Linked DNA regions of Homo sapiens: all the other regions are linked to region 1. The links are contacts of gene promoters, found by promoter capture Hi-C in blood cells and fetal thymus (Javierre and others, 2016). All regions are on one chromosome and are shown on one strand. The core of a region is centred on a gene start or on the middle of the fragment in contact, and the rest is flanking DNA. Distances in the headings are between cores, read along the strand shown. Region 1 holds the start of ETNK1 (ethanolamine kinase 1). Region 2 holds the start of IRAG2 (inositol 1,4,5-triphosphate receptor associated 2). Region 3 overlaps LOC124902897.

Region 1 (4,662 bases), core at 921-3,420:
TTTAGGTTAAAAGTTGCTACAAGAAACCAAGATTTAAACACACGTAGTTACTTTCCAACAAGCAAAAACAGTTTAATGTCACTACATTTTGCCCTTTTTTACCTACATCCTGGCTTACTTCACTGAGTTTCACCTAAAATGATAGTGCCTACCTAATATGGTTGTTCGGGCGACTAAGATAAAAAAAAAATAATTTAACTAACCCCACAGTAGCTATTATTACTATTCTACAGACAAATACATCAAAGGAAATTCCAGTCTTCAAAGCTTTAAACTTTAAAGTCACTGCTTAAAAGTAACTGATCTGCCAACACTAGAGTTTACCAGGAAGTAGCACTTTTTAATTAATAATGTTTTATGTATAAGTGACTGCCAGAAAACAAATCATCTTAATAAATTTTAGAGTCTTATATAATAAAATACAAACAAATTGATAAACTAAACAAGTACTGAATTTCAATTTGGAAGACACATTTCCTTTAAAGGAAATATATTTTTTAAATGACATAAAAATCACTTTGGATTCACTATTTCCTATATTCTCGGCTAACAAATACTCCCTTAAATTTCAAAATTTGTTGTCTAACAAGTTTCTTCTCCAAAACATACGGGTCCTTTAAAATAATCTGCTTAAAAACTCTTCTAGGTAATAAGAACTGAAACTAACACATGAAAACCCAAGTGTCAGGAACTGTTCTGGGCCCTAGGCACTGCTCATGTTTTATTCATCTTTGTGTGGGTGGCTGGCTAGTTTAGCGAAGAATTTAGCAAATAAATCAACAAATATTGGTGAATAAATTAGTCATCAAAACGAGGCAGATGATTTGGCTAATTCAAATGAATGTTCTTACATTATTGCTCAGATTTAGAACAAATCCCAAATATCCCAATCTTGAAAATTACTGTTTTTTTTTGTTTGCAAGGGAAAAGGAGAAAAAGAGATCTATTTTTGTATCTAGTTCCTGAAACTAAAGCTAAAAACAGATTAGTATTCAAAAAAAATCACGTAGTGGAAATCATAACTTCCAACTTATTAGAAAACTCCTAGAGTCTCAGGGATTTTTTTCCTCCCAATTTTTTCTCTATCAACACGGTGTCTCATGAAAAGGAAACAGTCACAAGCCACTGCTCCTTCTAGTATCAGGTATTAATTTCAGTAAGACGACTTTAATAATTCAGAAATATCGACTCAAACAAAACAATGTGTGTGGTGCTGCCTAAGAACCGACCTAGCGATGCATGGTCGTGGTCATTACTTTGGGAATTGAGTACGCTAGGGTTTGGGAAGACAAAACGCAGTGTGAGGCATCAATGAAAGCACATCGCAGGGGGAGGGGAGAGGAAGGAAAGATCAGAGAGGATTAATGACTGCATTACTGGTGGGAGGGGAGGAGGTAGACGAGGACCCCGTGCAAGGGGAGTGGAAAGGTTCATTTTGCAGTGACCGTGGACTGGGGAGTGGGAGGAGGGGCAACTATCAGCAGGAATCTCCCCCCGTGGATGGGTCCGTCACTTACGCAGCGGCTTCTAGAAAGAGAAAATGTGCCTCAGGTCAATCTCAAAGAGCAACTGCGACGGGAAGGGGGAGTGACCCTCCTAGGTGTGAGGGGAAATACAGGGTCACTTCCCAATAGACTTAAGGAGATGTTGCCCTAGGTCCTCCTCGGTCATCGTGGGACAGAGGCGATTGTGGTGAGGACCCCCAGAGCCGCGTGAGGGGCATAAGAGACCCAGAGCTGAGGTGTGGGCGTTACCTGCAGGGTCACCTCCTGGGGGTCCCAGTGAGGCCGCAGGTGTTGCAGGAGGCTCAGGGCCCCCTCCCGGCAGCGATGCTCCTCCTGATCCTGAACGGTGACGTTCAGCTTGGGCACCTCCGGGGAGCCGGGAGGGACGTGGATGTAATTGGCCATGGCCCAGGCGACGGCGGAGACTACCACCACGACGACGGCGACGGCGACCACGAGAACGGCGGGCGCCGACAGACTGGTGGATCCTTCCGTCCCGGGGCGCCCTCGCGGGAGGGCTGGGGGCGCTGGGACGGGCGGGCGAGCGGCAGGAGAACGTCTGGAGGCGGCACTGTTGCCGATCCGGGTCTGGACAGCAGCTGAACTGAGCCCGGCCCGCTCTCGGAGAAAATTCCTGTTGTCGGAGCTGGACCGCGGGCGGCCGCAGAGCATGCCGGGGCTGGCCTGACGCTGGCGTCACGCGCGGGGCGGGTCCTGCGCTGCGTCAGGGTGCCGAGGCGGGGTTTCTCGCCTCCGGTCACAATGGGACCTCTGTACCGCGCTGGGCTTGTTGGCCTGCGATTAGCACACACCCATCCCTGGGAACTGCTAGTCTGGAAAGCGGGGCTGCTTCTCCGGGATGAGCCCGAGCCCTGCCAAGCCCCTCAAGGCATTGAAGCTTTAGCTCACCTTATCCGAATGGTCATTGGGCATCTGGACTTGAGTTAACGACTGAATTTTTCTGGGAAGCAAGGGACACGTTCTAAAATAACCCCAGGATCACTCTCCGAACTTGGCCTGAGTCTAGGCAAGCAGTGTTACTCGGTCGCCTTGATCTTGGAGCTGCTGTGTACTGGGGACCTCATACTAGTTGGGTTAACTATATTCCCATTAGCAGTACGCGGGATCGCAGTACTCGGGACAAGCTGAGTTCAGGTATTTGGGTAAGACAACTGCAACACTTCAGAGGTTATTTGTGGAGTAAGATGTTCGACCATACAGTGAATAATTCGAAGCTAGGGAGAACAGATTAGAGTCTGGTATGAAGAAGAAAGGGAAGGAAAGGAATAGTTTTGAAGCTCAGCGCTAGAACGACTCGATGTCCATGCCAGGGTACCCCGAGTGGGCCTTGAAATCTTGCGTCTCAGTGCCTTACAGGGAATGGTAGAAACTGGAAAATCTACAAGTAAAGTATTGGGACCTCCTAATTTTCCTTTTAGATGGAGGAAAACGGGCTGGGATTCCCTGCAGCACTTAGCACACGGTGAATACGTTTGTTAGTAGTAAATAAAACCCTTAACTGGACTGAGTTTAATTAACATTCAAAATGTTTAATTACTTCACTAGCATTAAGTTTACATCCTGATTGTTCAGAAAGAACCTACTTACCTTTGTAATTAACAAAATAATTACTTCACCGATAACGGTAAACTTCCTAAACTAAAAAGAGGGGTGGAAATGGAGCTTTATAATACAGCAAAGAAGTTGATTTAACATTTTTCAAATTTAGTGGTTTTTTTGTTTGTTTTTTGTTTCTGTTTTTTTTTGTTTTGTTTTTGAGACGGAGCCTCACTCTGTCGCCCAGGCTGGAGTGCAATGGCGCGATCTTGGCCCACTGCAACCTCCGCCTCCCGGGTTTAAGGGATTCTCCTGCTTCAGCCTCTCGAGTAGCTGGGATTACCGGCGCGTGCCACCACGCCCAGCAAATTTTTGTATCTTTAGTAGAGATGGGTTTCACCATGTTGGCCAGGCTGGTCTCGAACTCCTGACCTCAGGTGATCCACCCACCTCGGCCTCGCAAAGTGCTGGGATTACAGGCGTGAGCCACCGCGCCCTGCCAGATTTAGGCATAATTTTCTACAAGAAACATTAGAGTGTGTGTTCCTTCCACTTTGGGGAGAAATCATAAATATACTACTACTTTCACATTTCAGATAGTATCTCTTGTATTTTTGTATAAATTGTATTTTTTATTAAGCAGTTGACATTTTAAGAATTTTAAAACTATGTAACTGTAAAACAATTTAATTGAAAATTATGTTGCAAACTGCACTAGTTTGTAATGGTAAATAAGAGTCCATTAACAAGTAGAAGAAAAGAAAAAAAAACTATTAGGTACCTGAGAACAAAAGTAACCGAAAATGTACAGGATCCATGGATAAAATTAATGGAGAAATGAACCATATTCATAAATGAGAAAAGATTAATGTAAAGGCCTCAATTTTCCCTGAACTAATCAGTACATATAATGCAATTCCAGTTAAAATCTCAAAAGGGTTTTTTTACTGAACTTGTTAAAATGACATTGAAATTCATATCAAAACTTAAGGTCCAAGAAAAGCGCTGTAATTGGGGAGAGGAGGATAGGGACAGGTAAGATCAGGGAATATATTGGGAGGACCAACCCTACCAGGATGTATTATATATTGGTTTAGGTATGGGCAAATAAACTACTAGAACATAATAAAGTCCCAGAACAAAACCTACACACATATGAGAACTTTGTATATAACAAAAGTAGCATTAAAAATTAGTGAGAAAGTCCAGACTGATCAATGAACCGTAGTGATACAATTGCTTTTTGTATGAGAAAAAAATTTTGATCCCTCCCTCTTATTATGCATAAAAATTAATTTGGGGAAGATTAGAAACCTAAATGTTAAAAGCAAAACTTTAAAAATGTGCAAGAAATATCAGTTCTTATCAACCTGATCTACTGATTCAATTCTAATCACCTCAAGTTATGTTGTGGATATCAGCAAACCAGTTCTAATGTTTACATGCAAAGCCACAAGAGCCAGAATAGCCAATACAATATTAAAGAAAAACAAAGTGAGAAAACAGACAGACTTGAAGACAGTATAGCTGGGTGCAGTGGCTCATGCCTGTAATCCCAGCACTTTGGGAAGCTGAGGCAGGAGGTTCGCTTGAGCCCAGG
Region 2 (4,662 bases), core at 1,166-3,665, 2.4 Mb before region 1:
CTACCTATCTGTATGTATGTGCAACACTGTAACCAGAGTACTAACAAACACACTTATTATTAGTACTAAGAAGATCACATGCATCACTCAGACATGCAACTTTAAATGCCTCACAGGATATTAGAAATACACAAAAACAAGAGAGTGGAAATGCTGGTGATGCTTTCACTAGAACAGTGGTGGTGGGGTGAAAGGCAAATGTAGATAGAGGCAGCGAGGCTAACAAGGTGAACACAGGAGGGAGTATGATTGGACACAGACCAGGGCTCTACAAGGCTGGGGTAGAGCCCTATAAAGTCCAGAGCCCTGTAGAACCCAGAGTGACTCTGGGGAGGGAGGCCCAGGTGCAGACACTTATTTTAATTTTCTCAAAATAAAGCTGAAAGGGTTCCTGTTGCCTGTTCAGCAGCCAAGCTAAGGACTTTTTCCTTTCCTGAGGAAGGTGAGAGTTCTATTCCTACCAATCCAGATCCAAGTGCCAAGAAAATCGTGAATGAAACAACATAATTTCTATACTATATAACCACAGCATTTCCCCATTTACAAATCACAAATGAGATGATTCATGTTATAGAAACGTATTCTAGCAGAACACAAATATCAACTGTGGCCAAGCATTAGCTACTATTTTGCATTTATTATGTTATTTATGTAATTCACAACAACTGCATTTAACCAAAGAGGATACTGAAGCTCAGAGAGGCAATGTGATTTGCTCAACTTTACCCAGCCACTCTTCTGTGGACTTTGAGTGAGAACACAGGTTTGTTAATTTCAAATCCCATGTTCTTAATCATTATACTATACTTCCCAGATTACTTCTCCATATCTGCATTTTTCATTTGGGAAAACTTGGGTCCCTATCCTATCAGAGTTGTTGAGCAAGCTGTATTTGGCTTTGGTTTTCTCCTTGGCCGTCACCCCAAAACCTTCTATCTTTAAGTATCTCAATCACCTGGATCCCTTCACCCGCCTTCTTTGGCTCATTTCCCTCCTGTTTACTGACTGCTTAGGACACGGCTTTCATCTTGAATCCATGCTCCAAGCCCTAAGGGTTTTACCTCTGCCATACCTCCCGCCCTCCATGCTAAGAATAGCAAGCTAAAAGAGTGTTTGCAGTGATATTATCTAGGTGAAAGTCTCCTCTAAACTAGGAAGTTCATGTGCAGATACTACGTTCAAATAAGAAATTATGCTATATCAGAGTTTCCCAGGATCTCTTTTCAAGGAAAAATTTGTGATTCTTAAAGGTAATTCTCTCATTGTCTATGAGAAGACTGACTCCATGAAGATTTCACGTCAGATGGGAACAAGAGATGGTGAATAGTAAGGGGGTGATAGTTTTGGATTGTATCAATTAGTCCATGATTTCTGTACATAAGATTCACCCTAATATGTTATATACACATCCTATAAGCTTTTAAAAATTTCCTTTTTAGATGAGTTCATGTCCTTTGTAGCGACATGGATGAAGCTGGAAACCATCATTCTGAGCAAACTATCGCAAGGACAGAAAACCAAACTCTGCATATTCTCACTCACAGGTGGGAATTGAACAATGAGAACACTTGGACACAGGACGGGGAACATCACACACTGGGGCCTGTCATGGGGTGGGGATAGGAGAGGTGTAGCATTAGGAGAAATACCTAATGTAAATGACGAGTTAATGGGTGCAGCACACCAACATGGTACATGTATACATATATAACAAACCTGCACGTTGTACACATGTACCCTAGAACATAAGTATAATAAAAAAAATTTCCTTTTTAAAGCAAACACTAATTATAATCCAGTCATGTGTCTATTAACAAGATACTTGGATATAAACAAAGTTTAGATGCAGAAGAAATAAAATATATAAGTAACCATTCAAGCAATTGAACAGTTTTCATGGCACATTTCTTGAAGAATATCATGCACATGAATTGCCTCATAAATCAGCCCAGTCCTGAAGGCAATTGAAAACTTGAACAATATCATTTATTCAAGATAAAGTTCAGGATTTCTGATCAAACATCACATATAAATTTCCAGTTGTAGTGTGAACATTATGCACATTGATCTGAACATTTGGACAAACCAGCTGCATCCCCACACAATGTGCTGATGCAACTTAGATGGATCAGAAAACAATTGTCTGAAATACTTTGTGAATTTATTAAACTAGCCAGAGAGTTTCAGAAAAGCTAAATAGATATAAATATGTTTTGTTTTCTGACTCAGAATCAGATGTCTGACTCAGAAATCAAACAGCATGGGGTGGCAGTGGTCATGGCGGGATGTGCGTGGACGTGTTTGTGTGATAACTGCAGTCATTGACATTTGTTTGCAGTCTATCTGGAACATCTGCTATATAGAACATTTTGAAAATACGTGCTATCTAAATTTCCCTCTTCTCTCAAAGATTGAATTTAAAGGGCATTGTTAGAAAGATCGTAAGTACATGGTCATATAAGCAAAATCCTGATTTGTATGGGTTTTTTGGGCAGCAAAAGATACAAGTAACAAGTAAGGGATTTCATAAATCTGGACAGGTTATGCATAACTCAAGACAGAAAGGAAGTGTCCACTCTACGTTATCCAGGCAGAAAAAAATACACGTATCAACCCAGGGCAGCTTTCATATTCTGCTTTTAAGTGTATTTGAATCTATTGGGCCGTGAAGATAAACTGGGAAGACAACAATAGCAAGTTCATAATATCAAGAACGTGCACTTTGGGGTAAGTTATTAAAGTTGACTCTTCTAAGAAAATACTGCAAGAAAATCACAGTGAGGAAGGGGAACAAATTCTTAGTAGTTTATAAAACTCAGGTATAATATTGATTTAATCAAAAGGCAAAACTGGAGCAAAAGAATAGTCCTGGGCACAGTGTCTAAAGCAGACACACCTTAAACCAACTTTGGAATGCCTTATGATTCATGTCTCAACATGAACAGTTCTAATCACAAGGGAACCTTCTCCAATGCCCTCTGAGCAGTAGTAAAATAACACACAGACTGTGTAATTTAAAGACTGCCTTACTAGCTTAACAGAGTGAATCAGAATATTGAAAACTGGCAAATTCAATAAAGGTTTAAAAATTATGACAATAATATGTTGAATAACCACTGCTATTTTAATGTTTTATTTATTTATTTGTTTGTAATTTTTGTAGAGACAGGGTTTCACCATGTTGTCCAGGCTGGTCTCAAACTCCTGGGCTCAAGCAATCTGCCCACCTCGGCCTCCCAAAATGCTGGGATTACAGGGGTGAGCCACTGTGTCCGGCAAACCATTGCTATTTTAAAACTAGACTATTTCTTAAACTCCTAAATAGCTTTCTCAGATAATAGTAGAAAGGGTACAATAAATCCAAAACAAACACAAGTCTGAAATTTTTCATCTCTAGCCTACCTTAAGCTTATATATTAAATATATAATTATTTATAATTATATAACAATTAACAAATAAACAATGTTTATTTCTCAAACCAAGTAACTTTCTATAAAAAGAATATTTATACTGCTAGAACAAGAAACTGGCTGAACAAAAGCAATTGTCTGATAAATGGCTAAATAAGTAAGGTTTATTTTTACCATATTAGGTTTCTAGAATGAAACAATTTTATAGCTAATCTGACATCTGTAATGTGACAACTGTCTTCTCACATAAATCTCTGGTAACTGTTTATATACTTTTGGGTAATACAGAAAAATGACAAATATTCCAATTTTTAAAATGCAAAATATGTATGTAGATGTATGTAGAGAATGCATTAAAACTTTAAAAGAATTTTCACACATTTGATATTTTGATATACACTGAATTCATAATTATTTTGCCCAACCCCCTAAAATTTCCAAAGAAAATAGACGAGCAAGGCCTTTTCTACCATATGAGAGGAAAAAAACTAGCTAATAAAATCAGAGTATAATATATAACAACTTGCAAGTTCAAATATACCATGCATACTAGATTTTTCTCCTTGTTTACTTTTAGAAATTTTGAGAAGTTTTAATTAATTTTAAAAGAAAAAAACAGCCACAGACAAAACCAGCTTATAATAAAAAGGCAAAAAGGGAAGTTAATGGTTAAACCCATGCATGCACCTAGCCACTCAGCAAACCTCTCTGAAAGCCCCACAATATTGCCTTCTCAAACCATTTCATTGTCATAAACTCAGGAATAATATCCTAGCTGTAATCTAGAAAAATGTCTGTAGTCCTATGCCCCGCCTGAGGGTGGACAAAAACTGGGTCATAAATGAATATTTGCTACTCACTCTTCAGTTTCCTTGTCTTCTGCTGAAGTGCCTGGCAAGTGTTCGATAATTCAGTATTTATAGTTTGAAGGTTCCGTTGTTCCGAAATTGCTTCCTCTAATTTATGCAGTAAAGACGTAGCTTTTTCACTGGCAGTGTGGGCTTCTCGATCTCGATCCTTACCCTGGACATGGATAGTTAGTGCTGGATTGTAGCAGTGTGGCCAGGAAAGAAAGCAATGGAGTGCTCACTCTTATGATGCAGGCAAAACTGAAAATGTGTTTTTCTTCTCAGGGAAGTGATAAGCCTCTCCTGAACTTCTGCAATTCTGTGTTTGCATGGGCTTGGTATGCCTGAGCTATTTCTACAGCGGTTAAAGTCCTGATATGTCAAGTTGCCTCTTTCTGCAGAG
Region 3 (4,662 bases), core at 938-3,437, 2.1 Mb before region 1:
TTCCTATTTAATTTTCAATGCTTTTTTCTATAACAATAAAAAAGTCAGCCCTTTCCTTAGGATGGTTGATAGATTTTTATTTAATTGCTAGTTGAGATGTACAAAACATTGGCAACTTTATACACAGACACGCTTGCTTTGGGCAGCGTTACTACAGGTTTTTGCCATATCAACACCAGAATTCTGACAATTTCTATTTCACAAACTTTATATTCAAAAAAAAAAAATGTGTAGTGTATTTGTAGTTGTATATACAACATTATCAAGTATTGTATTAGTCTGTTTTCATGCTGCTGATAAAGGCATACCTGAGACTGGGAAGAAAAAGAGGTTTAATGGACTTACAGTTCCACATGGCTGGGGAGGCCTCACAATCATGGTGGAAGACAAGGAGGGGCAAGTCACGTATTACATGGAAGGCAGCAGGCAAAGAGAGAGAGAACTTGTGCAGGGAAACTCCACCTTGTAAAGCCATCAGATCTTGTGAAACGTATTCACTATCATAAGAACGGCACAGAAAAGACCTGCCCCCATGATTCAATTACCTCCCACTGGGTTCCTCCTACAACACATGGGAATTCAAGATGGGATTTGGATGGGGACACAGCCAAACCACATCAAGGATATTCCTGACAGAATAGAACTTCTATTATGACTAAGAATTAAGAAAAACTCAATTCTTTACTTATACATTTACATGTTACAGAAGATTTATTCTCAGACTAACTTGTGATTCCATCAATTTCAAACCTGGGCTGCTCTCTCTTACCCACACGCTTTCAGTGCTGGGTGTCATGGCACCTGTTCCTATCACAATAGAACCTCTGACCTGTACCTCATGGCACAACACCAGGAGAGTCGGCACAGTGGGCAGGAAATAAAACTCAACACTACACTAAAATGGCTAGCAATGTGCCAACTACACATGAATATTGCTTCAAACCACATCAACATGTCCCACTGAACCAAAAAAATGTGCACCTCCACCCAACCTCCCCTTGGAAGATTCAAGAAACAACCATGGCCACACCAACATCATTGGAATGGGGAAAAGTGGAACAGAAAGTTGGAGTAAAGAGGGATAACTTTCTTTTTTTCTTTCTTTTCTTTCTTTTCTTTTTTTTTTTTTTTTTTGACAAGATGTGACTCCATTGCCTGGGCTGGAGTGCAGTGGCACAATCTCTGCTCACTGCAACTCCATGCTCAAGCAATTCTACAATTTCAGCCTCCCAAGTAGCTGGGACTACAGGCATTCACCATCACGCCCAGCTAGTTTTTGTATTTTTGTATTTTTGTATTTATTTATTTATTTTTTTGGTAGAGGCGGGATTTTGCCATATTGCTCAGGCTGGTCTCAAACTCCCAGACTCCAGCAATCCTCCTGCCTTGGTCTCCCAAAATGTTGGGATTACAGGTGTGAGCTACCATGCCCTGCCAAGATAGCTTTCTAAACCAAAATATATATACTTAATATCTTATTTAAAAAAAACCCTCATGGCACATATTTCTTTACCCACTCTCAGATTTTTGGATAGAAAGAAACTATGTGAAGGAAGGACCCTGGAGCTTAAACTTCATGAGCTTTATTGGGCAAAGGAAGTCTTTCTAACCATTATGATATTTTTTTCTTCATATGAAAAGAGAATGAGTATTCTTCCCTTTTGGACCATATTTAAGGAGCGTTTTTCTCAAACTTCTTTGTAATAAAACCTTGACTGCTTAAGATGTATTTGTACTTGGTTCATCATTAGCTGTTGAGGCATTTTTTGCATACCCATCTTTTTTGGACATAGGGTCATGAGAATTCAATTTAAAAAATCACAAGTCCTTGAATATTCTCAATTTATCTCTGTGACACTAGGCTTTAAAGAAAGCAGGGGCAGAGTTGGAACTTGACTAGCAAATGACCACAGTTATGGTTGTAATACTAGTCAATTATGACATAAAAATACAGTGAGTCACAGTGGGACACCAACCTAACTTATTGGAAGCAAAAAAAAAAAAAAAGTTAACCAGTTGTTTTGTTTTCCTATATAAACAGCTGGTTTAATTTTCACATTAGATAAATTCATAAATTTCCTCATATGTATAATGAACAAAGTCCTGCCTCCTCCTAAACTGAACAGAAACCATGTTTATTTTGCTTACTCTCATGTCCCCAGTTTCCAGAATGTTAGCAACTACAGGGTAGTTAATATATAAATATTTGGTGAAGGAATGAAATCAGAAGACATCAATTATTCAGCTTGAGTTATTTCTATGCCACATACAAATACACATGTCCTATGGCTGCCATAGCAAATTATCACAATTTAGTGACTTAAAACATTATACATTTATTATCTACAATTCTGAAGGTCAGAAGTCTGAAATGAGTTTTATGAAGCTAAAACAAAGCCATCAGCAGGGTTTATTCCTTGTGGAGGCTCCAAGGGAAAATCTATTTCCTTGACTTTTCCAGCTTTTAGAGGCTTCCTGCTTGTCTTGGCTCATGGCCCCCTCCTCTATCTTCAAAGCACATGGTTCCAACCTCAGATTCTTTTATCCCATCTCCTTTCTGATGTTTGATAGGGAGATGGGACAAGAGATCTTGCCTCCCTCTTATAATAAGGACCCTTGTGATGACACTGGGCCCACCTCGATAATCCAGAGTATTCTCCCCATCTCAAAACATTTAGCTTAATTCCATCTGCAGAGTCTCTTTAGCTACATAAAGTAAGATTTTCACAGGTTCTGGAGATGTGGATGTAGACATCTCTGGGGGCCATTATTCTGTCCACACAGTTTGAGAAATCACTCCCAGAATATTTGTTTTTAGGGACAGTTACTGGAATTCATTGAATTTAGACCTGGTTTCTGGGCTAGTATTTTGTCATTGAGACAATACTTTTACTAAAGCAGAAATTTTTAAAAAGCACTTTAATGTCAAGAGAGATTTACTGGACACAAAGACCACAAAGAGGTCTATATTAATACTGAGAAGCAATATAGACTTGGGGGAAATTTGCTCTCTTTATTGTAGCAATTTATAATCTGGATGAATGGATATATCACAGATATTTGATTCTCACCACCCCTCCCGTATCAGTTTTTTCCTTATTGCCTCTACAGTTCTGGGAGATACTCAATATGCTGTATGAGTAAGGACTTGCTCTTCTCTGTTGCCTCTCTTCTCCTCTGTATGAGTTACACTAAAACTAACTTGGCTCAAGTGACAAGATGAAGATACTTGTTTAATGGTGTTTCTCAGAGAGCAGACAACAACTTAATTAAAGAGGGCATATGATAAATGAAAATATTTTCAGGAGAATATGAGTTACAAATTACCTCAATACAAATTAATAAGCAACGGAACTCCTGACACAGTCTAGGTGCTCAATAAATATTTGTTGAACTAATTACACATTTATATGTAGTATGAGGATTACTTCACCTCCATACAGCAGCTCACTTCTATAGACACCTTGGCTGGGATGTAACAGTGACTCTAAAGGCACAAACTCCACAGTTAAATGATGAAAAGACAAAAACAAGAAGGAAGAGGTCCTGGGATCTAATGAGGACCTTGTGGACAATGAGCATGAAGAAATTCTTTTGAGAGCTGGGGTCTCCCATTGCACATTGGAACATCATAGTGCCAGTGCCTAGGTCTGACTCAACAAAGCACCACCACTGAGTCATCTGACCACTTCCTGGGTTTTCCCCCTTGAAGCCTTCACACCCAGGGTCTGCATGCACCCCACCCTGCAGGGGATGATCTCAACTGGGTTCATTAACTAAAGCCTTGACAGACCCTTCTGATGTAATGGTCCCTGTGAAACCCAGAGTCCCATCTCTGGAGACTGTGAGGGAAGAGGGTTTAAGCAATGACAATTAGTTGGGAATTTTTTCCTTCATGTCATCTGTGAGAACCATCTGACCTCACAAGCAAGACTCTCTGTGGTGAGAAAGGGTGGTGTGTGCCTTACAGGAAATTCGAAAATGACTTCAGGGCATTACATACATGATTAGCAAGAGGGTAAAATATAGGATTGGAATCTTGCTTCTGATTTTTAGAGTAGAAAGAAAATTGGGCTAGGGCGGGGGAAGAGAGGTCACTGAGGAAGGGTGTATTTGATGATACAGCCTGAAGGAAAAAGAGCTCTCCATAGCCTTCCTCATTTCTTCCGCAAATATTTATTGAGCACTTGGGATGGAGCAAGTCACTGTTCTAGCCCTTCCTCCTCCTCATCCCTGTTTTCTCCTCCTGCCAACTTTCTTTTTGTTGTTCCGAGTTTGAATATTTTTCACACTCAGAGCTGTATAAACTTCTCTTCATCACCAGATTCTTTGATCTATGAACAATAGCAGCTCTTTGAATAGCAGAATAGGAATATCTGTTTCATAATTTCACTTTTTCTACAGACTTTGAACATCACCATGTCAGGAAAACGTAAAGTTAAAGGGTTCCCATGGTTTGACCACACCCTGACCTCCTTTTGGTTTTCTTATTCCCTTTTCATAGTGTTTTTATTTTTTACCCAATTTGGTCACACTCTTTTGAGGCTAATTATATACTGGCCTTGCAATCTTCACAAGATTTGCACATGACAAGTTCTGATTTGCTTGTTAGTCAGTGAAGGCAATCTTCAAAATGAAGCTTCATAAATAACCAAAAGGAAG

The links. Contacts are between HindIII fragments. The CHiCAGO score rates a contact against its expected background, and 5 or more counts as called.
Region 2: a contact is called between a fragment that was not itself captured here and the fragment with the promoter of ETNK1 in region 1, in 1 of 17 cell types (M2 macrophages). The highest score is 5.9, in M2 macrophages.
Region 3: a fragment that was not itself captured here is called in contact with the fragment with the promoter of ETNK1 in region 1 in 3 of 17 cell types (M2 macrophages, M0 macrophages and M1 macrophages); the score reaches 7.5 in M2 macrophages.

What each region holds. Positions count from the first base shown.
Region 1 is chr12:22,622,679-22,627,340 of GRCh38, reverse strand. ETNK1 (ethanolamine kinase 1) reads right to left here and starts at 2,170. Exons shown (of 8, transcript NM_018638.5): 1 at 1,755-2,170. The coding sequence starts at 1,910. It overlaps ETNK1-DT (ETNK1 divergent transcript), which reads left to right and starts at 2,295. Exons shown (of 4, transcript NR_135030.1): 1 at 2,295-2,668. RefSeq lists enhancers at 1,047-1,736, 1,756-1,925, 2,456-2,525. The HindIII fragment of the contact is 2,136 bases long and covers 270-2,405 here.
Region 2 is chr12:25,052,566-25,057,227 of GRCh38, reverse strand. IRAG2 (inositol 1,4,5-triphosphate receptor associated 2) reads right to left here and starts at 4,522. Exons shown (of 22, transcript NM_001366544.2): 1 at 4,272-4,522. RefSeq lists an enhancer at 4,648-4,662. The HindIII fragment of the contact is 1,991 bases long and covers 1,420-3,410 here.
Region 3 is chr12:24,718,664-24,723,325 of GRCh38, reverse strand. All of the region lies in intron 1 of LOC124902897, which reads right to left. Among named protein-coding and RNA genes, the nearest start is that of BCAT1-AS1, 99 kb to the left of the region's middle. RefSeq lists an enhancer at 3,563-3,622. The HindIII fragment of the contact is 4,909 bases long and covers 1-4,641 here.